Linked DNA regions of Homo sapiens: all the other regions are linked to region 1. Evidence: promoter capture Hi-C in 16 types of primary human blood cells and fetal thymus (Javierre and others, 2016). All regions are on one chromosome and are shown on one strand. Each heading gives the region's core, a stretch centred on a gene start or on the middle of the fragment in contact. The rest is flanking DNA. Distances are from core to core; before and after follow the strand shown.

Region 1 (4,587 bases), core at 1,045-3,544:
TCAGTAAATGGGGCTATGAGGAATAAATGAGAAAATGCATGGCACATGGAAAAAAAGAAGGAGCTCATAGGGTTTTTGGTGAAGGGCATTGTGGCTCTGCCACCACATCCTTCCCCAGACCCCAAAGAGACTACAGAGTCCCTGGGCCTGAGGGAGGTCCCTGACCCTCCATCCAGCCCCCTCAACCTCATCTAGGACCTGGGTCCACATCTAGAAGTTCATTTTGGCCCTCTCACAGCATTCTCACTGCATCTATGACCCCTCTCCTTTCACAACTCTGCAACTGGAACTTTTATTTTGATGAGGCATTCTCTGCCTGGAGAGCTAAAAAGCCTCCAAAACAAACAGTGCTTCCTACCCTTCCCCGAGCTCTCCAGAGTGGAGAAGTGTCTGATTTCCTGGTTCCCAAGCTCCACGAGGTCTGTGCAGTGCAAGTCCCTCCCCAGACACCTCCCCCGTCGAGTGCCTCCCGAGTTACTCACAGTGGTTGGGCAATGGTCAGGGATCCGGCCTCCCACTTATGTAAGGCATAATTATCCAGCCCACCCGGCTCCAGCCACCATAGCAGCCAGCAGCAGGGGCCAGGAAGAGCCCATGCCCTCCCCAGGCCCACATAGGGCTCCCATTGGCCTGCACCCTCCAGAACAGAAGAGCGGCTGACCCCTGATGAAGTGCCCACTAGGTGCCCGCTGCTAGGTGCTTCCTCCTGCTCACTCTGAGGCTGCACTTCCAGCAGTGGAGGCCTTTCCAGCAAGAAGAATGGAAACAATAGCGAGATGTGTGCAGCCAGTGTACCCTGGTGAGCACCGGCTCTGCGCCAGGTGCTACGCTGAGAGAACGCCTCAGAGCTCTTTACTATTCACCACCCCACACCACACTCCCACGTCCACAGAAGCAGGTGCGATTACTTCCAATTTACAGAAAAGGAAACTGAGGCCCAGAGACACCAGGGAGCTTGCTGGGGTGAAGCAGCTGCAGGTTCAGAAAGCCAGGAGGCAGCCCATTCATTACGGCTATGTCCGGTTTGGAAATCTCTCGCACAACCCAGCCTACTGAAACTCCGACGCACCAAAAACATCCTTTCCTCTTCCTGAAAAAAAAAAAATTCCCCTTTTGCCCTCCGAGTTTCATCCTTCCCCCTCCGCATGACAAATCCTGCTGCTGCCACCTCACAAAAATTTCCAGGAAGGCCAGCTACTTGGAGAAGAGCAAATCCCTTGCACAGCCAGCACCCTGGCCTGGCGGCTGGCCCAGATCCCAGGCAGCCAGGACAAGAATAAGATGGGGTGAGAACCCCCAGTGCAGGGAGAAGCTTGCAACTCAAGACAGAGAGAGGCCGGTAGAGAGGGGGCTGTACCTTAGGGAGGGGTGGGAGGACAAGGAAGGTTCCTGGGAGCCCAGGGCTGCAGGACAGGGTGCAGGCCAGCCAGGGAAGGGGCAACATAGGGCCTATAAGGATAAGAAGAGCTGGGGGAGAGAAGGACGGGGAGTTCCGAGCTGGGGTGTAGCCAGAGCACCCGCATAGGGGGTACAGTGAGGTCCGCAACAACAGGAGCACTCTGGGGCCCAGATGGAGACTCAAGTTAAATCCCAACCTGGATACAGCCCTGGGACCCGAAGCTAGAAATGGGACTGGGTGCTGCCCAAGGACCCAGGTGAAGGCCAGTGTGAATCTCACCTGGGTCCCGCTGAGGGAGAAGACTGGGAGAGTTCATGTCCAGGCTGCAGCCATAAGGCCCAAATGAGGTCAGAATGAGGCTCCTGACTTGGATGGGGTGAGCAGAACAAAGTCCTAGTCTGGGTCCAGCCTGGGTGATCTCGGGCCTGAGTGCAGTCCCAAGGCCTAACGTGGGGGTCCAGGTGAGGGCCCAGGCGGGGGCTGGTCCCGGGACCCCGAACAGGAAGGGGTTCCGGGACCGGACGCCGCTGCCAGGTCGAGAACAGGATGGGGTGGGACCAAAGAAAGGTCGGGGTTTGCAGCCCGGCCCCAGATTAGGCGCGGGGTCAGGCCGAGGTCCCGGCCGGGAGCGCCTACCTTTGGACTGGGGCATGCTGGCGGGCTGGCTCGAGGCGGGCGACTCCATGCTGCAAGTGGGTCCTGGACGGCGGTGGAGACTAATCTAGAGGACTGCGGGCTCCACCGGGGCCGAGCACGCTCATGGCTGCGGGCAGACGGCCCAGGCCAGGCGGAGGAGCAGCGGCGGCGGCGGCGGCGGCGGCGGCGACTGCGGCGAGGACTGCGGCGGCGACTGCAGCAAGGACGAGTCCGCGACGGGCGGCGCCGGAGACAGACTGGGCAGCGCCGGGGAGACCCCGGCCGAACTGCGCTGACTCAGGCCCCGCCCCTGCGTGCCCGATTGGTCCTTTCGTTTCCAAGGCCCGTCCTCTGCCTATCAGACGCCGGCCTGTCCCTGCCTGTCAAGCACACGCCCCACCCTCCTTAGGCCCAGGATCCGGGCCCCTCCCGCTCTCTGTCAAGTCCGCCAGCCGCCCGAAAAACCCAGGTCCGGTCAGGCTCCGCCCCCTGGACTAAAGCCGCGCCCCTCGCGCTGCCCGTCAACATGCAAGCCCCACCCACTCCCGGGACCCACTGAGCCCGCTGCTCCCTGCAGGCGCCCAGGCCCAGCCCGGCACCCCCAGACCCGCAGCCCCGGCGGGTGCGATGCGCGGGCGCGTTCTCCTGGGTGCGTCGTCTGGAAAAAACCCGAGATCCCTAAAGGTGGCACGGCTGGGCCTGCCGAAGTGGGCGGGGGTTAAAAGTGCGCTGCTGGGCTGCCTCCTGGCTCTCTGAACCTGCAGCTGCCTCACCCTAGCAAGCTCCCTAGTGTCTCTGGGCCTCAGTTTCCTTTTCTGTAAATTGGACCCGGGTTCGGATCCGAGTCGGCAGCTTTGTAGCGGAACTAGCCTTGGTCAGGTGGTGACACCTGAGCCTCAGTCTACGCATCTGTGAGCGGGCGGCGGTGACAGCTATCTCCCGGCGCTGCTCGCTAACACGCACTGAGGGCCTGGCGCCAGCAAACGTCGCCCGCGCCCGCGCTCCAGGCGCCCGGCCAGGGCGCGGGGTCGGTGGTGAGCTCAGCGATGCCCGGTGACGAGGCAGCACGAGGAGTTTTCGTGGCTGGTTACTGCTGCCCCTGTTCTACACAGGGGGAAACCGTGTCTCAGAGGGAGTGAGGCGGCATGCGGTGCATTTTATCCCGCGAGCCCCGAGGCCCCATCCTGGCTCTCTCCTGGACCTTCGTTCTCTCCTCTCCTCCTAGGATCTCAGTCTGCCCATCTGCATAATGGCTGGATGGGCCAGTCCTCCCTCTGCTCCCACACGGAACCTCGGGGGATTTCAGGAACCGCTGACCAATCTGGCGCTGGGAACAGATGACTCTGGATGTAAAGCCAGGGCTAGTGAAGGCAGAATGTACCAGGCAAAGGTCAAGGGGTCAGCCCCTGGCCTCCAGGCAGACATGTGTACCCTGTCAGGGACCTCACGTGAGGGAAGCAGATTCCACCACCTGCTAGAAAGGCTTGAGGCCGGGCCTGACCTCTGCTTGCCCAGGTGTAAAGTGGGGGTGATGCAGGGCCCCATGCACAGAGTGGGGAGCCACAGGAGATAAGAGGGAAGCCTTGCAGCCATCACCATTCTCTTCCTGCGTCTCCTGTTCACCCTTCCCAGGCAGTGGGATGGAAAATCATGAGTCTGGGGCTCAGATAGGTATGGGTTCCAATACCAATTCCTCCACTTACTAGCTGGATGACCTTAAAGAAGTCACTGAGCAGCTCTGTGCCTCAGTTTACCTATCCCATGGGGACAATAAGGTCTCTGAAAGCGTTTCATGAGTTCAGGAGTGGAAACACCTGGCCTAGGGCTTGGCACTCACTAGGTGCCCAGGAAATGTGAGTTTGAAAACACTGTGGGCTGCCTCCATCCTTGCCATATCATCCCTGGTGACCTGTGCTTATCCGTCTGTAAAATGGGCATCCAGGAGCAGCTTCCTTTCTACCAGAACTGCAAGGCTAGTCCAGCGAGTTTTCTGGGTTCAGGCACTGGCCAACAGCCTTGACTTCTGCACAAGGCCACACTCCGCCTTGTGCACTCTGCTTCTTGGGATGTTCAAGAGTCTCAGTATTGCCCCTCAAATGTGCCAGGGATGGTCCTGCCGCAGCAGCTTCACCCTTGCTGCTCCTGCCCAGAACATTCTTCCACTCAAGCCTCCTGGGGCTGGTTCCCTCTCATCCCTCAGACCGCTTCCTAAATGAACACCCCTAAGAGGCCTTCTCATCATGGTCCCCAGACTGAGGCACAACACTTATGCTGCTGATGTCTTTGTTACTGACTCAGTTTTTAACACAGCTCTCCCTCCAGACCATCCGAGCCTCATTCCCTGCTGTGTTCCCAATGCATAGCCCAGAACCAGGCACATAGTAGGTGCCTGATAAATATTTGAGGAATGAAAAAAGGAAGGAGGAAAGCATCCACAGACCAGGGTGAAGCGACTCCAGTCCCGTGCCAACCTCCTTGGCGGCCAGATGACTCAGACAGGCCCTCGCATACAAGGAGTTTGGGGATTAGTCAGGAGCCCGATAAACAGCTCA
Region 2 (4,587 bases), core at 9-2,508, 110 kb after region 1:
TGAATCCCAGATCTCCCTCTGTGGACTCCAGCTCTAAGCCCTAGCAAGCATTGACCCAGGCCCTGCACCCTCGGCCGACTGTTCAGCATTGTAGAACTTTCTTCCTCTCAGTACTGACATGAGCGGACAGAAAAGCCACAGGCCTCATGCTGCCCCTCAGGGAACAAGCGGAGATTGCCATTCAGCCTAGGACATAGTCACCCACAGTGTTACAGGAAGAGGTGGTGTGTCAGTACTCACCTGCCTCTCCTTCGGAAACCTGTGTTGGCCTTACCTCAAGTAATGCCTGTTTTCATTTTCAATCCCTGAATACTTGTGAAACTAGAAAGGGGTTTTTTGAGGAAAGGAAAAAGGAAGTCGTACCAATTCTTATCCTCTTCAGAGCAGACACTCAGAGGACGGACGTTTCTGGGTGGAGCAGCCCCTAGACTGTTACAGTGAGGGCCACAGATGGACTTCTGACCACAGGCCTCACAGACACCCAAAGGGGATTCAGTGCAGGGCCCTGCCCCAAGCACCAGCATGGGCTCCGGCCGGTGAGCGTGCTGCCCCGCTGTGCCTGTGGCATGTTCCTGCCCAGCATTCCCCAGTGAGCCATGAAATCTGGAGGCTGTATGAGTGTCTGTGCAACAGTGTGCAGTTGATTCTTAGAAAATGTGTGTTTTTCCCCATCTGCCCTTATTTCCCCTGAACCTCCCCCATTCCTCCGCATTCACCTGTCCTCCTGTGCCCAAAGCAGGAGATAAGAGGGGGACACAGGGTTAAAGGAAGGCTGAGGAGGAGCTGGTGAGGACCGTGGTGAGCACCATGTGCTGTCGCTGGGAAGCAATGCCCTGGAAGGCCACTTGACGAGCGAGCCAGAGTCTATGAGACAAAAGGCCCCCCCCGAGTCCACCTCCAGGGCTGTGGTTTACGAGCACAGAATCCTTCTCAGGAAGGAAGAGGCTGGAATCCAAGAAGAGAGTTCTGGCAAACCAGACTGTAGCTCTAAATTATTCATAAGCTTGGAGCAATAATGTAAAACCCTCAGCCACCTACTTAATATCCCATCTCAAGCCCACATATAAAAAAAAAATTCTGCTTCCTTTCGTAAGAGGACATCAACTCTGGATGCCAGAGTGAAGCCAGGAACACTGTGGACTCCCAACACACATCCATCTATGCACCAAGTCGCTTTGATCCTGAAGTTCATGTTCAGGGTGGCTGTCCTGATCTATGCTAAATTGCCCCCTACAAGAGGATTCTACTGCAACGGAACTGTCAACTGAACTAGATTAGCATTTACTTTTTCACCTGCTTTTCCAGATACACCTGAATTCTTAACCACCATAAAAAACAGCCACATTCTTGGACTGTAAAAATGACAGTTTCCCATCAACTGCCACTTAATCCACCTCTGAAAACACCTCAGCTACTATCTGCTGCATGGATAAAGCTCCCTCTTGCCCTACACTATGCCAAGCCTCCATTGTATGAACTGGGGATTAAGGTGGTATCTAAAGCACCAAGCTTTTCACCAGGCACTACTGGTACCATCCCTGCCCCAAGAGGAAGTTCTGACCAGGTGTTCTTGCCTGCAGGCTATGCTGGGTCCCAAGGACCCTTTGTGTGGAATCTGAGAAGTGCTCAGGAAAGCTGTAGAGTAGGCACCGAGGCCTGTGCCACTCCAGGGTTCTGTGGGTGCTGCCTGGAGTCCTGCACGGGACCAAGATCCTGAAAACAGGGAATGTGGGAGGGTTTCCTAGGGGAAGGAGGGATAAACAGTGGGAGGCAGGAATGGTTGCCATTTTGTTGATATAGCTTTACCAGAAAATTACAGCAATTGACAAAAGGCAAGAGAAGGCTCCAGGCAAGGATAGCTTAAAACTTGCATGTAATAAGCTGGTTGAGGGGTGGGGGCTTGGGAAGAGTTCAACCCGGCTGGATGGCTATTTGGTAAAAGCTTTTTTCTCACTGCAATCCCAGGTCTTTGTACCAGGTAGGTCTCAGGGTAGGACCACCCTGCCTTGTCCAGAATGGCCCAGGGCCCAGCCACTGCCCAGGATGAGCTTGAGGTATGAAAGGGGTGGGGGCCTCAGCTCAGGGAAGGATAGTAGGGCTCAGCCTCTGGGGCCGGGACCCAGAGCCCCACTAGGCGTGTTGGGTGGAAACCCCTCCGAACACTCCTCCGTGGGCCCCTGGAGGCCAGTGCCTGTGAAGTCCACCCAATTTCAAATTGACAACCTGGGGCTGAGGCACAGTGCCACCGAGGTCATGGGGGTCAAGAGCCAAGTATGCAGCCTGTCGCTTCTCAAAACTCAGAGACCACTTGAAAAACACTAACTGCAGCACAACAGCGGCAGTGCAGGGGTCATGAGGATGAACCCTCAAGCCAGCCTGGCTTGGGTGACACCCTGGCCCAGTCACTTGGCAGCCTGGCAAAGGGGCCTCACTGCCCTGGGCCTCAGTGTCCTCGCCTCTGAGCTGAAGTTGTGAGAGGACCTCCCTCCTGGGTTTGTTATGAGGTTGGATGAATTCATCTGTACACAGAGGGAACACAGCTGCCACCAGCATCATAATGACCACCATTAACTCAAAGTTCCTGGATCAGGACCTCACCTCCCAGCAATCCGACTCCCAAGACTGTCTGAAGGGACCCCTGGCTTGTGAAGTGTGGTTCTTTCCAAATAAAGGAAGCTCATTAAATGTATTAAGTGTCCAATGTTGTTTAACTTCTATATTTTCATAAACCTTTCAGTTTAATCAAATTAACAAATAGGAAAAAACTCCACAACATTGGCAGAAGTCAGGCTCTCATGTCCCAAGTTTTGTGTTAGAAAATGTGGTTATCAAGGCCAGCAAAGCAGGAGAGAGCAGACAGGTACTAAAATGTCCCTCAACCCCGTCTTCACACCCAGGGAGGAGCAGGATGAAAATAAACCAGCCCAGCAAGGCTCCCCAGTGGAAGATGATTAAAGTTCCCAACAAATTGCACTTTCATGCAACCTAATTAAAACTCAAGCCAGCAATCCATGACATGAAGAAAAGAGCGAAAACTACACACCGTCTTGTACACTTCTGGGATTCCTTGAGCACCTGACACAACATCACAGGCCAGCCTTGGTCTCCTGGCCCTGGAGACCACTTTGCCTGAGGCAAACATGGCGCCGGGTGAATGGGATCCATCCTTGGCCCGGGCCGCTGTCTGTGGGGAGAGCGCATGTCTGCATTCAGTCTGGTAAAGTGCTATCGAATCAGAATGCAAAGCAAATTAAAAGCCAGTGCCAAGGCCAAACGCAGTGCCTCGCGCCTGTAATTCCAGCACTTTGGGAGGCTGAGGTAGGGGGATCGCTTCAGCCTGGGAATTCAAGACCAGCCCGGGCAACATGGTGAAATCCCGTCTCTACAAAAAACACATAAACTAACCAGGTATGGTAGTGCACGTCTGTAGTCCCAGCTTCTTGGGAGGCTGAGGTGGGAGGATTGCTTGAGCCTAGGAAGTTGAGGCTACAGTGAGCCAAGATTGCACCACTGCACTCCAGCCTGGGTGACAAAGTGAGGCCCTGTCTCAAAAGCAAACAAAAAACAAAATCCAGTGCCAACTCTCCCCTGCTAACAAAGAATGACCATGGTGGGAAAAGACACCCCAGAGTGAGCCATTTATCTGAGAATCAGGTTCAATTCCAGCATAACTTTCCTGACTAGATGAAGTTGTTCATATTGATAATCCCGACTCTTTCCAGAGTTTTTCAAACTCTGAAAGCCCTCCTAATAGTTCTTCCACTATGCAGGGCATGTGGCCACACTGCTGGGCCTTCTTGGGTTCTTAGAGACAGCTGTGCCAACACTTTCCTAGCTTGTCTTTGGAAGTCAGGATGACCATGAGAGCTAGCCATGGAAAGCCCCACCACCTTGCTGTGGTGTCCAGGGCTTTCTACCAGCTAAAAGGACAGCTTCACAGTGGAAGAAAGGAACAGTGTTCTAGCTGGCCACATTTCCAGATTAGGAAATAAATCTACATAAAGCAAGGTCAAAGGGAGGCCTGTTTTCTTTGAAAATGGCATACAAGAAGGATTTATATATATGTATAAACTTTAATATATTTATCAATCATGCATTTTATACCAAAATCCTTATTAACTGCTAGTTTCAGATATATAGCCAGATCATGGACTGAGAAGGCAAGATTGATGGTATAAAAAGGGACTGGGAAAAAATATCTGGCTCACGATTTTCAGCATTTGGAGATCAGCTTGTAGAAAGAAGGGACAGAGTCTGTCTAGCACCACTGTGAGCCATGGCAGAAAGCAGGACAGAGACATGGGGAGAGAGAGTGAAGCCAGAAAAAGAAGGTGAGAGCCCCTCAAATAGAAACCATAGTGCACACGGCATCTGGAAGCAGAGGGCACCACCTACACATGGAATGTGTGCAGTCATAGTCACACTCTTAGTCCTTGGGCAAGAGACCTGAAACACAGTCTCACACTGATGAGACTCACGAACTGGCGTGAGGAAGGGAGAGAGCTCAGGGGCTCACATATTAATACTGTCTGCTTATATTTTCATCCCTTGCCAGATCCATGAGCTCTAGACCCAGGTTAAAAGAGT
Region 3 (4,587 bases), core at 639-3,138, 72 kb after region 1:
AACAGCCTGCACCTGCAAGCAGGGACCTCCGTGGCAGCAGGGACAGCGTGTCTGTCTCGGCCTCCAAAGTACCCCGGAGTCTAAGAGAACTGGGGGAGGATGGTGCGGGAGCAGCGCCCGCCTCCAAGGAGGGCCCGGGCGGCGCCTCCCGCCCCTCGGTGACCTTATGGGCCAAGGCTGTGAAGGGCAGGCGTGGCGACGCGGAGGGGCCCGGCGCTAGTAGCCCGCAGACAGCGCGGCGGCCCCCAGCGGGAGAGGCAGCCTGGCGGCCAGGACAGCGCGGCCGGGCGCCTCCGCGCAGTGCTCTGGGAGTTGTAGGCACTTGCCTCTCCTCTCTCCTTCAGCTACTGGCTCTCGAAACTCAAGGACCTACCGGTGGGTGGGCGCCTGTGACTCCCAGGCTGCGAACGCCGGGAACTCAGTTTCTTCAGAAATGCTCGAACCAGGACGGCTCCTGGAGTCCTCGCGCCCTCGCAGAAGGACTACGGGCCCCGGCGACCCCGGGGGCGGGGCTTCCGGCGCGCTGCCTTGTGGGCACGGTAGTTCCGCCGGGTCTGGCTTCCGCCTGCCGAGCGGCCCCGGACCGCAGGCCGGACTACACTTCCCGTCGGCCCGCCTGCTCTCCCGATGCCGCCTTGGCGCGAGACGTTGGCAAGCAGAGTGTCTCCAAGATGGCCGCTTGGGGAAGGAGGCGTCTTGGCCCGGGCAGCAGTGGCGGCAGCGCCCGAGAGAGGTGAGATCCAAGGGCTTGTTGCCCCCAGTGCAGGCGGCTCAGCGGCCGGAGAGCCCAGCGCGGCCTCCGAGGGCTGCAGCAGCCTTCCTTCCCTGGTTTCCCCGCGCTCCCCCTACCCTCGCCGGGCATACTGGGTTCCAGTTCCGGAGGATCCGGGATCCGGGTGGGAGCGAGGTCGAAGGCCTCGGCGGAGAGCTTAGGGGAAGGGGCGTTAGCCGGGCTGAGTAAGGTAGGCAGCGGCCATGCGGGGCGGGGCCCGAGGCCGGGCCGTGCTGAAAGGAACTGGCGCCCAGCGCAGGCCTCAGGGACCCGCCTAGCTGCCCGCGGGCCGATCGGCTGCTGAAGCACCCTTCCCGCCTGGGCACGCGCGTGGCCATCTCGGCCGCGGCCCCAGACGTGTAGAGGAAGGCAGGGCCCCCGGAGAGAGAAAGAAGGGGAAGCCTTCACAGAGCAGGCCGGCCGCGGCAGGGGTAGTTTGATCTGCACGTTTACTAGGGAGCTTTAGCTCCCGCCAGATGTGTCTCTTCCGAGCCCAGAGCCGGCCACTTCCTCGAGGGAAGATTCTGAAGACTTTTGGATGGTTCTGTGCAAGCGCTCCTGCCGTAGAAGTCCTTTAAAGTGACCTTTCCTAATGAATGGTGTGTGGGCAGGGAGCTAGGAGCGTGTTTCTTCCAACAGGGACCTCCATTTGAATAACTGATTTCTAGAAGATGAGATTGGAGTAGTTTCCGTGTTTCATGTTCAAGTTGCAGTTTTTGCATCTGGGAAGCAGTTTCAGCTAGTGGAAACCACTAGAAGCTGTTCAGCCACTAGAAATTTGGGAGAAGATGTATTGGTGGAGCCACCTGGATTAACTGTCCGCTAAAGCTTGATTGTTATAGCAGCGGTCAGCAAAAAAGGAAAAGTTTTTGTTTTGCTGGTTCTCCCCCTCCCCGTCTTTTTGGTGAGGATTGTCTAACAGAAAAGTTATCTTCCTCTCAACTACTCTGCATTATTCCTTTTCTGTGACTGATTCCATCCCGTGTTCATTGCTATTGCTTGCAGATGGCTTTCCCAGCTGGGAAGATTCTTCCTGTTTGGCAGTTGTGATAGAATCCTTTAGCTTGCTTGCACTTTATTCTTTAGCCCAGTTATCCAGCGTTGCCCATTCTGCATTTCCTCTTCCTTGGAAAAGCAGTGGTAAACACACTTTTGTTTTTCTAACTCCCGCCTGGTATTAGATTGGACCATTTAAATAAGTTACCTCAATGGTTTTCAGATGCTCTTAAAAACTAGCAAACATTTTCAAGATATTCAATGCAAACAGTAATACGAAATAACCTGTTTAGAAAACAAAGTATTAGAAACATACGCCCTCTTGTTGGACTAAAAGCATCTGAAAAGAGCCGAATAGGGATGCCTCAGGCAGGGAACAGGAGCCTTGCCAGCACAGGTTAAGCTTTTATTGATCTAAGAAAATAGATGCTGAGAATTGTTTTTGTTTTGGCTTGAGACAACTGTTTATTCAAAATGGATCTGCAAATTAGCAGTGCATAGGCTGGATCCAGTCCTTGACTGTTGAACCTCAACAGTTTTTAAGAGAATTTAAATTAGTTGCCAGCAGATTTCATATAAAACGCTCCCTGAAAAGCTGGGTAGTGGCTGACTCTTTTTGGTCGGGACAAGTGCTTGGTTCCAGTTCTTGGTTCCTCACCTGACAGCTTGACTCAAATCACCTGACAGCTTGACTCAAATCACCTGTCAGCTTGACTCAATGCATTTGCCTGCTTGGTCTCTGTAGGTGTTCAGGTTGCACCTTTGGCCTGGAACTGAAGGCTCTACTCACACACGCAGATGTTGTGTGTCAGCAGGAATGTGGCATTTGGTTTTGTAGTTTGGATGTCACCATCTACTCTCCTAGATAACGTGGTATGGGTGGAGACTACCTGTCTGTTTGCTCTTGCTGTAAACCCCTAGCCAGGTTCTGTTGGAAGAGTCATTTCCCCGAGCCCAGCTTCCCTAAGCTCTTCCCATGCTGAGCAGGGGATGGAAACATAACCCGCTGTGGGGCTAGCGAGCTGACTTCTGGGCATCCCTCCATTCCTGCTCAGTTGGTGATGACTGTTCAGGTGGGGCAGGGCGGATTAGCTGATGGCCCAGCACTCTAGATTATGAGATCTGAGTGTATTATTGGCTCTTATGACTGAAGTAGGCTGTTTATGGCTCTCTAAAATGACTTTGTTCCATGTCACATTCGTGCTGACTCAAATCTCAGCTCCATGTTATACGAGTGCTCTCTCCCGTTGCTGCTCACACCTGGTTAGCATCTGCTTTTGCTGAAGCTGAGGGAAACATTATCTGGTTTGGGGAAGGGGCTAGAACAGAGTGACACTTTGGGCACACTTGCCAGATTTGCCAGCGGCTACCAACTCTGAAGCATGCATTGTACTTAAAGGTCCCACCCAGTGCCAGACTGCCTGCAGTATTACTGCCGGCGCTGTGTGTTGGATGGTCCAGTTTAGCACGTGTAGCGTGTGGGTTCTTGCTTTACCTTGTTGAGTCTAGAACCACAGCTCTAGAATTAGTGCTGAATTAACACAGCAGTTCAGTAGTCACCAGCTACATGTGGCAATTACATTTAAATTCATTAAAATTAAGTAAAATGAAGAATTCAGCTCCTCAGTCTCACTAGCCACATTTCAAGTGCTCAATAGCCACTTCCGGCCTGTGGCTACCATATTGGACAGCATAGGTGGAGGACATTTCCATCACTGCAGAAAGTTATGATATGGACAGTGCTGGTTTCGACTAAGATAGGAGGGGTGGAAATAGCAAAATGGTAGTGCTTGCATGTTGATTTTTCTCTCCACTCCATTAAATCTAGGGAACCAACAGTGTTTGTAATGAAGAACATCAGACTCTGAGCTGTAACCTGAATTCTTGTCCAAAATTCAGCACACTGGCAACGAGCACATCAAACAGATTGCCACTTGTCCTGTCGGCGTCTTTGAGACACACTTGCCCATCTAGGAAAGCACAGTGCAGGTATCTGTGTTCTGCCACCGTGTGCCAGCCCGGACCAGCTCACAGACAGCCCTGCCTGTCTTACTTGGGCTGCTCGGCTTCACTGTCTCAGGGCCCCTGAACCTCCCAGAGCCCTCCGTGATTGTTGGAATGTGAGTATAGCTGTGTGCTCTTGAGTTCCTGTTTTTATAATCACGTGAAGATGTACTTGATCTGCTTCTGAGCATGATATGAGGCAACCTGGGGTGTGCAGAGGGCCAGATGCACGGGGCTAAAAGTTCAGGTTTAGCGCGAAGTTATTTGTTGTGGCCTGCCCCTCCCCTGGCTTGCGCGGCCATCTGCTCCAGCGTTTTATAGGCAGCCAGTTCCCTGGGCTGACTTTCATGGCTTTCCTTGCCATGCTTTATTCCCCAGGACCTGTCCTCTTCTTTGTGAACTCAGGTGTGCCTGGTCCCAGGTGGCCCTTACACGTTCATCCAGTGAGCAGATGGAGCACAGGCCCCGGGGGCAGGTTGGGTCATGGTCCCGGGGTGACAGCTTCCCTTTCTGATCTGATCCTTCCCTTTTAGACTCTCAGGCTTTGGGAGTATTTAATCTCTCTTGAAAGACTCCATGCTTGCTTTTGTGTGTGGCGGGAGTTTTTGTTTCCTTCTGGCTGGGATGAGATGAGCAGATACGGGATCTGCACCCAAGTGTGTGGGGGTTTAGCCACTGGTTGTGGGATTCTGCTCAGCTCTTTAACAAAGGCAAAGCCACATGTTCTGGCCGCAGAAGTTGGATTCGTAGGTAAGGATGGGGTTCATCCTCTTCAGTATTGATGTGCCTTCAAGTTTTCAAGAATTTCTGTTTTC

The links. The method cuts DNA at HindIII sites, captures the fragments that hold promoters and counts their contacts. A CHiCAGO score of 5 or more calls a contact.
Region 2: a fragment that was not itself captured here is called in contact with the fragment with the promoter of MAP2K3 in region 1 in 3 of 17 cell types (M0 macrophages, M1 macrophages and M2 macrophages); the score reaches 5.8 in M0 macrophages.
Region 3: a contact is called between a fragment that was not itself captured here and the fragment with the promoter of MAP2K3 in region 1, in 14 of 17 cell types (naive CD8 T cells, fetal thymus, erythroblasts and 11 more). The highest score is 10.6, in naive CD8 T cells.

The regions. Positions count from the first base shown.
Region 1 is chr17:21,282,418-21,287,004 of GRCh38, reverse strand. It overlaps MAP2K3 (mitogen-activated protein kinase kinase 3), which reads right to left and starts at 2,294. Exons shown (of 12, transcript NM_145109.3): 1 at 2,036-2,294. The coding sequence starts at 2,084. RefSeq lists enhancers at 586-645, 2,722-3,222 and a silencer at 2,306-2,835. The HindIII fragment of the contact is 5,771 bases long and covers 1,315-4,587 here.
Region 2 is chr17:21,167,349-21,171,935 of GRCh38, reverse strand. The region is part of intron 1 of DHRS7B (dehydrogenase/reductase 7B); the gene reads right to left. Among named protein-coding and RNA genes, the nearest start is that of DHRS7B, 43 kb to the right of the region's middle. The HindIII fragment of the contact is 506 bases long and covers 1,006-1,511 here.
Region 3 is chr17:21,210,237-21,214,823 of GRCh38, reverse strand. TMEM11 (transmembrane protein 11) reads left to right here and starts at 663. Exons shown (of 2, transcript NM_003876.3): 1 at 663-733. The coding sequence starts at 672. It overlaps TMEM11-DT (TMEM11 divergent transcript), which reads right to left and starts at 499. Exons shown (of 2, transcript NR_184102.1): 1 at 374-499. RefSeq lists silencers at 52-321, 442-581 and an enhancer at 662-761. The HindIII fragment of the contact is 571 bases long and covers 1,603-2,173 here.